2 separate regions of the Homo sapiens genome follow, and region 1 is linked to region 2. Evidence: promoter capture Hi-C in human tissues and cell types (Jung and others, 2019). All regions are on one chromosome and are shown on one strand. Each heading gives the region's core, a stretch centred on a gene start or on the middle of the fragment in contact. The rest is flanking DNA. Distances are from core to core; before and after follow the strand shown.

The links. Contacts are between HindIII fragments. The study calls those that stand out against the background at their distance.
Region 1: the fragment with the promoter of CCKBR here is called in contact with a fragment that was not itself captured in region 2 in 1 of the 25 tissues and cell types used here (dorsolateral prefrontal cortex).

What each region holds. Positions count from the first base shown.
Region 1 is chr11:6,256,620-6,263,511 of GRCh38, reverse strand. CCKBR (cholecystokinin B receptor) reads right to left here and starts at 3,674. Exons shown (of 5, transcript NM_176875.4): 1 at 3,433-3,674. The coding sequence starts at 3,583. The HindIII fragment of the contact is 2,957 bases long and covers 2,534-5,490 here.
Region 2 is chr11:6,405,745-6,410,535 of GRCh38, reverse strand. The region is part of intron 2 of APBB1 (amyloid beta precursor protein binding family B member 1); the gene reads left to right. Among named protein-coding and RNA genes, the nearest start is that of APBB1, 11 kb to the left of the region's middle. The HindIII fragment of the contact is 6,856 bases long and covers 1-4,694 here.

The sequences.
Region 1 (6,892 bases), core at 2,425-4,924, 150 kb after region 2:
GGCAACAGAGGGAGACTGCCTCAAAAAAAAAAAAAAAAAAAAGATGTTAATCTGAGTAAATGAAATAACTGAGCACCTGAGTGAATGTAAGTAATATTTAAGCTTTTGTGGGTATTATCTGAGTATGTGAGAGTAATATTTGTAATTTTATGGGTAGTATCTGGGAAAAGCTTACTTAAGTGAGCATAGGTAATATCTGGTTGTGTGTGGATAATAATAAAATGAAAGTGAGTAGTGTTTGATGGATGGGTAACACCAAAATGACTTCGGACAATATTAAAGTGAGTGTGGTAACATTTGTCTTTCTGTGGGTACTATCTGAGTGAACATGGGTAATACTCAAGTCTGCATGGATTATATAAGGAGAATAAAGTGGTAACATCCAAATTCCTATTGGTAACATTGGAGTGAACCTGGGTAACCTATGCATCTGCAGGGATAATATCTGAATGAGTGTGGCTGACAGGGTCTCTGTGTGTAACATCTGACTGGCTGGGTAACATCCAAATGTGTGAGGAGCATTTAGATAAGTGAGGCAAATTTTTGCACCTGTGCTCTGAATTGCGTCACATCCCGCTTTCACAGGGAATCTTCTCTATTGACTATCCCCTTTCTTATCTGCACCTTCAATCTTCCTCTCTCGGCCCAATCACCAACAAACATTTTAAAAAGCTCTTGTTTTAAAATGCGTGCACACACACGCGCACACACGTAACAAACCTATGCACATACCCACTCCCCCCTTCCTCAATCTCATGCTATTTTTGGCAATATCCTGCTTTTCTTTCTCTCTCTCTCTCTCTCTCTCTCTCTCTCTCTCTCTCTTTCTTTGCCTACCAGACTTCTTGAAAGTTTTGGCTACATACCTTGGTTCACTTCTCATAACTCCTTCTCTCACCAGTCCAATCTTTAACCTACCATAGTCAAGCCTCAATACCTACAACTCCTAAATATTTTCTTGTTATTGAATGTGAAGGATGCTGTTCTGACTGTCCTGTTTTTTATTTATGTAACTTATGTCAATAGCATTTGATATCACTTACCCCAACCTGCTTGAAACTCTCTTTTTCTTGCTTTCTGGAAGGGCGTAGCTCCTGCCTTTCTGATGGTTTCATCTGAATCTCCTTCATAAATTCTCCTTTCTCTGCCTGGCTTTTAAATAATGGTCTTATGCAGAGTCTTGACCTAGGACCTATTTTCTTCTCATTCTATACAAAATTTTATGATTTTAACTATTCTCGGGGCTTCTACATCCTGTAGGCAAAGACCTTCTTCAAGTCTGTATTTCCACCTCAGACCTCTCCTGTAAGTTCCAGACCCCTGGATTCAACAGCTTACTAGGTAACCTCACCTGGATGCCCCACTAACATTTAAACTCAATGGGTTCCAAACTGAATTTATAATTCCCTCTTCCAAACCTGTTTCTGCTGTTTTGTTATCTTTCTCATTGTATACAATTGCTATAGCACCAATATCCATTCAGTTGTCCAAGTTAGAAATCTGAATGTCATCCCTTGACCTCTTCCATCCTCTCTGCTTCTAATCTGTTGATTCCATTTCCAGAAGAGGCTCTCAAATCTATCCACCTCTCTCCATCTCCCTTGCCATTACCTTAGTCTCAGCTAGCATCATCTTTCACCCAGAACAGTGTAATATAGTAACCTTGTAAAGTATCCCCCTGCCTTCCATCTTATGTCTTCCAATCCGTTCTCCACATTATAGAACTAATCCTGGTAGTACTACCGAATCTTTTAGTAGTTCCTATTGCCCTCGGGAGAAAGTCCATGTTCCATGGTCAGGCCTAGCAGGCTCTCTGCAAACCCTCTAGGCTGGTCTCCAGCCTGTTCATTATTCCCTTCTTAAGATATATGTTCTAGTCACTCAAAACTATGTCACAGTGGATAAAAGTGCCATGAATTCAAACTTTGAGCTTCTTATACATCTTGTCCTTTTATTTGGGATGCTTTCTGCCTCTTCTGCCCGTTCACTTGGCTGGCTCTCCCATATGTATATGTGTGTGTGTGTGTGTGTGTGTGTGTGTGTGTGTGTATATATATTTTTTTTTTTTTTTTTTTTTGCCAACAGGAAGCTTAGAGCCAGCCTCCCTAATTTTTTTGACTTTGTAGCTCATTTCCTCAAGAGGCCAACTTTAATTCTCAAGGAGGCTGGGCTGGGCTAGAGGTGTTCCACTTGTGTTCCCACTATCTTTTCCCTGTCAAGGCTCTTCCACTTTGTGCTGCAATCCCCTGCTTTTCTGTCTCGCCCATTAAACTTTGAGCTCTGTGAAGTAGGAATTGTGTCGGTTTTGTTCAACTTACATTCCCACTGCCTAGCACAATCTCTGGTTCAATAAATATTGGCTGAATGACAGAATCCAAGTGTGAGTGTGTAACAACTCGGCTGAGAAAGCATAGATTATTTCGTGGGGTAAATAAATACTTGGATTACAATTTATTCCAACTTTCCCTTTTTGAGTTTAGAAAAATTTCCTTCTGCTTAACATTGCTCCTTCACCTAGAATCCCACTCCTTCCTTTTCTGCCTACTCAACTTCAAGACCCAGCTCTAAGGTTCTAGCCTCTGTGAAGTTCTTTTGGTGCCCACAGTTTAGACCCTTTCATGGGACTTCCATTGTGTCTGTGATTTTTCCATTTGCTTGGTTTCTCTCTGCACTTGGCTATGGGCCATGAGGGTCCAGACTGGGTCTAGTTTGCCCTGTGCCCCCAGCACCTAGCCTAGGGCTGGAGAGAGAGCTTGGAAGATAGCTGGAGACATTACTTGCAGACAAAGAGAGAGGGCACAGAGCCTCGAAAGCTCCAACTAGGGAGGCAGAGGGGTTTGAGAAGGAGTGAAATGGAGGCAGGCAGCTCTAAGGAGCATCCCCTAGTGTCCAGCCTAATTCAGATTTGAGGATCTTTTTTGGGATGGCTGGGGGCTGGGGTGTCAGATGTGATCACAACTTCAGCTTCGCATTCAAGCTTTCCAGAGTGCTCCCTCCCTCAACCAGCCCCCTTCTTTTCCCAGTCCTGCCTTCCTTTCTTCCTTCCCTTCTCTGTTGTGGCTCTGTGAACTGGATGTAAGAGGGAAAAGGAGATCTGCAGGGTTGGCAAGAGGAGGTCCTCGCCTTCTGACTGGTGTCTAGGAGGGGCTGCGTGTTGGGGAAGGGGCTGTGCTTTGGGGTGAGCAGGGGCTCTAGGTGTATTCAGGGGACCAGGATGTGAAGGAGTTCCGACCAGGTGGTGTGAAGCTGTGATGAAGTTGTAGGCTGTGGGGGTGAAGGTGTGAGGGGAGCTGTTTGGGGGCTGAGGGAGTACTATGAGAGGCACGGTGTGGACGTTTGAGAAGGTAGTGTGGAGCTCGTTGGGGGGACTCTATTAGTGTTCTGGGGTACAGTGAGAAATAGCTTGTGGGGGGGGCTGAGGGAGGCACCCACCTCGTGTCCCGGCTCCGCGAATGCGAGGGGGCTCGCAGCTGAGGTTGCCCACACTGCTGCTGTTGAGGAGAGGCGCCCCCGGGCGGCACAGGGAAGCCCCCGGCCCGGGTCCGGTTCCCTGCACGCTCCGGTTCAGCTTTAGCAGCTCCATGGCCCCCGCCGAGCCCGCCGCCTTACTCAGCTCGACCCGGCGGGCTCCCAACGCGGCTCCACCTGCTCACGCTGCGATTCCGGCTCAGGCTCCCGCCGCCCTCCTCTCCCTGCCCCCTGCCCCGCCTGGTCCCCGCCCCCAGCCCAGGCGCCTGCCCTCCACTCTCCCGCGGCTCGCCCCGCCTGGGTTCCCGTCCCTCCGCCAGCCTCTGTCCCGCCAGGTGACTGTGCACCCCCTCCCTGGCTCGGGAGTTCTGCCCCTCCCTGTGCGACTGTCCTCCAGGCTCGCCCCCTCCCTAGATGTGTCCCGTCTCCTCTTAGAGATTTCTCTCCTGCCCACCTCTCTTTATCACCCGCCCCCACCCCCGATTCCCAGGAATGAGAGAGAGAGAGAGAGAGAGAGAGAGAGAGAGAGAGAGAGAGAGAGATTGAAGACAAGAGTATTGGCAGCGTAGGGGGAGGTTTCGGGGAAGGGAGGGTAGGAGGGGTTGGGTAGAGACGGCTGCCACGGATCCAGCATCTTTCTCTGGTGTATCAGGGAACGTGGAGGTGGCGTTGGAGACCAGGTCTGCGTGCGTCACCTGCTGAGGCGCGGATGCTTTAGTCTGAGCCTAGAGCCGCATTTACCGTACTGTGTTGCAGTGGCCGCAGTGACCGTGACACTATTGCTACCGTAGTTCCCTGCAGCTCCTCGCTGCGGGCCTGGGGTAGCTCCTGCATCTGTCTCCGCACCCTCCATCTCCTGTCTGAGGCTTAACACTCAGGCTTGCACTTAAGGGTCCCAAGGAGCCCTCCACAGCTGGGCGGGAGTGGGGGTGGGGCCGGGGCCGAGATTTGGCTCCAGGGAAGCCTTGCCAGGGAAAAGGGCTCCCGGGAGGAAGCTTCTGACTTGAGTGTTGAGGGCAGTTGGGGGTGGTGGCAAGCACTGACAAGGATAAACCAGAGTAAGGTGAGGATGGGATATAATTCTAACGCCGGCCCAGCGCAGGCAAAAGAGAAGGAGAAGGTTGGCTTTCTCCACCGTCTCCAGGCAGCGCCCACGCCCACCCGACACGCTAACGCTCCCTGTTTGCTCTCAGTGCAGGCAGAGCTGCCTGTGTAGGGTGTCAGGTTCCCACGAGAGGGGGCTAGAAGGGGACTGGGTCACTGCGGTGCAGCGGGAACAGGGCTGAAGGGTGCAGGACTGAACTGGGTTCAGCTTCTCGGGGCAGGATTTGCCTCTTCTACTATTTCAGCCCTGCTCCCTATGCATTCTCCTATCCATTCCTTTTCTTCCCCAGATTCCTATCTCCAGATTCCTATCTCCAGATTCCTATCCATTCTTCAGATTCCGGATGAACTCCAATACGATGTGAAATTCTTCTGACCCCCAGCAGTAGCTGTAAGAGGTTGGGGGCGGGCATCAGTGGAAGAGCAAATTAGAGAATGGAGTCTGGCTTTATGGGGGATTCAGCAGGCCCTTATCCAATTAATCTTTTGGAGAGGACCTGGTTCAGCCAGCCCTGAGTTTATAGGGGCTGAAGCATTGAAAGAGAGTTGAAAGACAGTTTATGCCTGAGATGTCATCAACTGCTCCCCCTTTCCTTCCTCCTGGTACTGCCTGTCTTGCCCATCAGAGAGCCTGGACCAGAGGAGCTTGATTTGCTATTTGTTCCGCTCCAGCACAGGTGGGGCCTCAGATAACCTGCTCAAGTTTTCCCACATTGGATGACAGTACGATGAGGAGGGAAGGGAGCAAAGGATGTAAGGGAGAGGGGAGTGAAAATAGAAATAGATGGACATTCACTTATTTAGCAAACTATGCCAGTTCTAGGGGTATGCACTAGTTGTCCAATATAGTTTGCCCCTCAGTAGCACCTACTCTAGTGGGATTTTCCCAAGCAAGCCAATGATTGTAATATATGGTCGTTAAGTGCACCCACCAGGATGTACAAATCAGAAATTTAGGAATTATTATTGATGCCTTACTCCCCTATGCTCCTTCACCCCTGCGCTGGATGCTGTGATGCAAAGCCCAGAACCCTCTTCAAAAATGGAGGATTTATTTTCCAGCTGTGGAGAGTGCTCCTAAAAGATGGCCCTCAGCTGTCATAACCCTTCAGGAGTTGCCTAAGCAGAAGAAAGCCAGCTCATCCAAGGTTATGCTCCCTTTCTTGGGCATTCTATATCCAATGACCGATCAGCACAGAGGTATAAAAGTTTAATCCCCTCAACCCAGTGGTGGACAACTCTGAAAGATGCTCACACCCCTAGAACCCTTCATATGGTTGACTGAGGTCTTTGCTGGGACTGAATTACTACTCAGCTTCTCCTTTTGCCCAATCCTATTTTCATCCTCTCTCTTGCACAGGTGTTAACTCCAAGAACGCTCCTTAGTAAACATCCTCCACAGTAATCTTTGTTTGAGAGTCTGCTTCCTGGGGAACATAACTACATCACTCCCATATTGAATCAATCACAAAGTCCTGTTCATTTTAGCTACTGAGTGTTCCTTGAATCTGCCTGCTTATATGTCCACTGATATTACCCTACTCTTGAACCACACTCCTAACCTCCTAAATGGGCCACCACATTTTACTGATGCCTCTCTACATCTATACTTCACCTTAAAGCCGAAGTACTATGCTCAGAATACAAATCTGACTATCCCACTCTTTTGACCTTTGCTTTTGGGAATGAGAAAACATATTAACAGAATTTAGAAAGCCTGTGAGGCCTGGCTCCCACTTACCTCTCTAGCCACATTATTTCAAATCACATTATTTCAAATAAGAGTCACAATGATTCTTATTCTCTCCACTGTAAACACATTAGCCTTTTTTTGGTCACTCCTTCTTTTTTCTCTTTTATTTTTCTTTTTTCTTTTCTTTTTTTTTTTTTTTTTTTTTGCTATATGTCCTTCAGTTGCATGACTTTTCCATATGCTCTCTGGAAGCTTCTTCTTTCCTTCCTTACCTAGTTAACACTTACTCATCCATCTGATCTCAGCTCAAGCTACGATTCTTCAGGGATATTTCCCCTGGCTTCCTCTCCTTGGGTAGGCAGAATTAGAAGATGACCACCAATGACTGTCACCCTTATATAATCTTCTTTTGTGTGTGGATGGACCTGTGCATATGATGAGATACTACTCCCACAATTATGTTATATGGCAAAAGGGATTTTGCAGATGGAGTTAATTCTACTAATCAGTTGATCTCAAGATAGACAGATTATCTGGCTAGTCCTAACCAAGTCACATGAGTTCTTTAAAAGCCAAGGGTTCTTTTTTTCTTGCTGGTAGCAGAAGAGGAAATCAAAGAGATTGGAA
Region 2 (4,791 bases), core at 17-2,516:
CTGAGAGCCCATACCCTGAGGCCACAGCAGGCCATGTCCAGGCTTTTTCATTCAGAGAGTGCTTGGACATTCTGGTAGATCTGACCATCATGCATGCCCGGATGGATGGATCTATTCATTATGCATGCCACCATGGTTGATAAGTGGACTAGTTTACTGGGCACTGACTAGGTAACTGGCCCTCTGCTCAGCATTTTCAGGCTTTATCCTTACAATAAAGCTGTGAGGTAAATATTATGATGATTCCCATATTACAGATAACAAAAAAGAGATCCAGAGAGGTTTAGTAGCTTTCTCGAGACCACAGACAGGCTGAGATTACAATAGAGCTGAAATCTAAACCAGGTCTCAGTCCAGGCCTGAGCTCTTGGCCCCGTGTTATGCTGCCGCCAATGCATAGAGCACAATGCACTCAGGTGCACTTGGGACAGTCGGCCCCGTTTTTTTTTTTTTTGAGACAGAGTCTCACTCTGTCGCCAGTCTGCCCCGTTTTAACAGGTCACGCCTGTTGGGAGCAGCCAGCAGCTCCCCACAGAGGTCTGTTTGGAAAGACTGGGAATGTTGTGTGCTTATAATCCACATGCTCCAGCACCATTGCAAGGATACAGTTTTGTCAGGAGTAGGATATTGACTAAAAGTTAGAAAAGAAAACCCTTTGGGTAGGGGGAGGAGAATAGATACTAGGACTCCAGGGCTTAATCATTAAATATGTCCATTTAAATTAAGCTGAGTCTCCACATTTTCTAATGTCGTGTAGCGAATACAGGAAAAGCTGAGGAACAAAGAGTGGAGATAATGGGCTATAGTTACAACCAAAACCCTGGAGTTTTGTAGATGGAGGTCTAAGAAAGATTAGGAAAGACCCCTATCCTTACCAGGTGGCGGACACAATACCCATACCCCAAACTGTGCAATCTTTGTGGAGAACATGCAGTTCAGATGAGCCTAGGGCTGCACACCATCCCCTTTCGAAAAACTCATTCTGGACATTTTCAAACATACACAAAAATAGAGAGAAAAGAATAATGAGCCTGATTTACCCACGAGCCAGTTTTACCAATTATCAATACATAACTAATCTTGCTACCTGCATGCTCTCTTCCGTTCCTAGGCCCAGCGTAGGTTATTCTGAAGCAAATACTTTTATCTATAAATGTTTACAGCTGGGTGCAGTGGCTCACACCTGTAATCCCAGCATTTTAGAAGGCTAAAATGGGTAGATTGCTTGAGCCCAAGAGTTCAAGACCAGTCTGAGCAACATGGCAAAACCTCTCCTCTATAAAAAAGACAAAAAAATTAGCCGGGAGTGGAGGCATCAGCCACTGTGGTCTCAGCTACTCAGGTGACTGACCTGAGAGGATCATCCGAACCCAAGAAAGTCGAGACTACAGTGAGCCATGATTGAGCCACTGCATTCCAGCCTGGATGGCAGAGAGAGACCCTTTCTCAACAACAACAACAACAGTTTACTTTTGCATTTCTGAAAGATAAAACTCTTAAAAAAAAAACCCACCACAATATCATTATTGTACCTACAAAAATTTAATAATAATTCTTTAATATCATTAAATATCCTGCCAAAAAAAGGCTGGATTGAGCCTGGGCACAGTGGCTCACGCCTGTAATCCCAGCATTTTGAAAGGCTAAGGTGGGTGGATTGCTTGAGGCCAGGAGTTCAGAAACAGCCTGGTTAACATGGTGAAACCCTGTCTCTACAAAAAACACAAACATTGGCTGGGCATGGTGGCTTATGCCTGTAATCCCAGCACTTTGGGAGGCCGAGGCAGGTGGATCACGTGAGGTCAGGAGTTCGAGATCAGCCTGGCCAACATGGTGAAACCTTGTCTCTACTAAAAATACAAAATTAGCTGGGCGTGGTTACAAACGCCTGTAATCCCAGCTACTCGGGAGGTTGAGGCAGGAGAATCACTTGAACCCGGGAGACAGAGGTTGTGGTGAGCTGAGATAGAGCCATTGTACTCCAGCCTGGGCAATAAGAGCGAGACTCCTTCTCAAAAAAAAAAAAAAGAAGGAAAAAAAAAATGTAGAGACAGTGTCTCACCATGTTGCCCAGGCTGGTCTTGAACTCCTGTTCTCAAACAATCCTCCTACCTTGGCTTCCCAAAGCACTAGGCTTACAGGTGTGAGCAACCATGTCTGGCCTGATCTATCTGTTAAAGTTATGTTTGATCAAGTTCCCCTTCTATTTTTTTCGTTGTTGTTGTTTGCAGTTTTGCTTTTGTTTTTTAACTGGAGAATCATGTTGCTTGTCCTGAGTTTTCTATGGTTTGGATTTTTCAGACTCTCTCCTGTGGTCATATTTACCATGCTCCTCTTCCCCTGGATTTCCTGTAAATTGGTAGTTAGTTCTAGAGCCTTGATCAGATTCAGATTTGAGCATTTTTGTGTTTTGCTTTTGCAAGAATATTTCATAGGTGGTATTAAATACTTCTACTAGGCCGGGCGCGGTGGCTCACGCCTGTAATCCCAGCACTTTGGGAGGCCGAGGCGGGTGGATCATGAGGTCAGGAGATCGAGACCATACTGGCTAACAAGGTGAAACCCCGTCTCTACTAAAAATACAAAAAATTAGCCGGGCGCGGTGGCGGGCGCCTGTAGTCCCAGCTACTCGGGAGGCTGAGGCAGGAGAATGGCGTGAACCCGGGAAGCGGAGCTTGCAGTGAGCCGAGATTGCGCCACTGCAGTCCGCAGTCCGGCCCGGGCGACAGAGCGAGACTCCGTCTCAAAAAAAAAAAAAAAAATACTTCTACTAAAGGCAAAGTCTGATTGCCTCTCTTTTTTGTGATGTTAGTGGCCTTTGGTGGTCATTGTCTCAACTCCTTTTAAAAGGAACAGCCCCTCCTGCACTCCAGCTGATTATTTTTGGGATTGGGGTGAGGAAAAATATAGTCTCAATGCAGCCAGTTAAAGGGAAACTGAAAACTAGATATTGGTGTAAAATAGCCCAATTTCTAAACGTTAACAACAAATTCTATTTTTTAAAAAGCACTGTGCAGGCCACACACAATCTATCTGAGGCTTGCATCAGTCTGCAGGTTGTAGGTTGGAAGTTTGCAAGACTAGGGGGTGTGAGTCAGTGACCAAATAGAGGCCTAGTTGCTCACTTGCCCCTGGGATGGTCACTGTGGGGGCTGCAACTCTGAACTACCTATGAAGCTTCTAGGAGTAGGGGGATAGTACTGCTGAAGAGCTGGGGCGGGTTTGCTGGGCAGTGACCTCAGCAAGGATGTTGGAGTGGCAAGAGGATTCTCAAGGATCATGCACTGGTGGAGACATTGTGAATTGAGGATAGAGGTGGGGGCCAGCCCAGGAAAGGGGCCAAGTCACTCTTTTACAACTGTGTTGCTATGACCATGAGGGCTGCAGAGAAGGTTTGTGCTCCTGCAGAAATGAGGCTAGAATTGAGCAAAAATTATATTCTCCTTCCTATTGTAGGATATTCATAGAGCTATGGATTGAATGCATAAATGCATGAATTCATGAATTAAATGAATGATGAATGAATAAACTTTACTACCTGTATTGAATTCATACTCTGCTCCAGGCCTTATCGTAAATGCTGGAAATGTATACTATGGGGCAAAGATGTTCTTACCTCCTGGCCTTCACAGCCTGGTGAGGAGACAAAGAAAGAAACAAGTGGTTATGATCAGTGCGATGAGCTCTCTGGGGCTGGGGAAGTACAGGAGGGGCCCCTGACCCTGCCTGTGAGAGTGGTGGGGGAGAGGGCAATGGGTCAGTTTTAAGAAGGGACCTGTATACTGATGTCTGAAGGAGAGGTAGGTGATAGCCAGGTGAAAATCGAGAGTAAGGGAGGTGGGCTGGGAGAGGACAAGGGGGCATGTCCCAAGCAAAGAGAGAGAAGGGGAGTGGCTGGAGGTAAGGCTGAGAGGCAGACAGGGGTTCATGACAGCACATAAAACCTGGGGAGGAATTTGGACTTTATCCTGAGGGCAGTGACAAAACAATTAAGAGGATTCCGTTGGAAAATTACTTGATTAGTTTAGCATCTCAGAAGAATCATTTGGGCTGTACTGTGCAGCTGAGATTGGAGGAGACCAGATAGGAAGAGAAAGACCAGTTATGATGTTTTTGCAATGATGCAGGTTAAAAAAAAAAAAGCTAGTAGCCTGGGCTATGTTAGTTATGTGGGGTGGAGAGAAGGGGAAAGCTTTAAGTCAATCACTGATTCCTGAGCAAGTGAGTACACCTGGCTTCACCACTAAGGCATTTGTGGATGAACGAATGAAGGAAGGAAGGAATGATACGTGAACATTTAATGTATTTTATATGTAAGTGTCGCATGAATCGATGCAGGAGTGAAGGTGTGCGTTCTGGAATAAATGCATGTGTGTGAAAGCAAAGGCCGGGGTGGGCTGCGCTTGGAGGGAGATGTGCCAAGCTCCAGAAGGGCCTCCCAGATGGCCAAGGGGGGAGAAACTGCCCTTCCAGGACAGATCGGAAGGATGAAGCTCTTTGAAGCAGGAAGGTACAGGCTGACAGGGATGGCAGATGGATTGGTGTGTGTGACTCAGTCAGGAGATGGTGAACTGGTCCCCAGATTCCAGAAGTGTCCAGCCAGCCCTCATGAAGCAGGCTGTGGCTGTGGAGGGCATGGAGGCCCTAGGGTGCTGTTCCTGGAAGGTTTTAGCAGGAGAGTCCTGAGGCAATGGAGGGTCTCTAGGGAACAGCAGGTATTCCCTGAGCCTCAGCTAAGTTTCAGGTGCCTATTGAAAACCTTATTCCATAGAGTGTGAGTTAGGGGGAAGT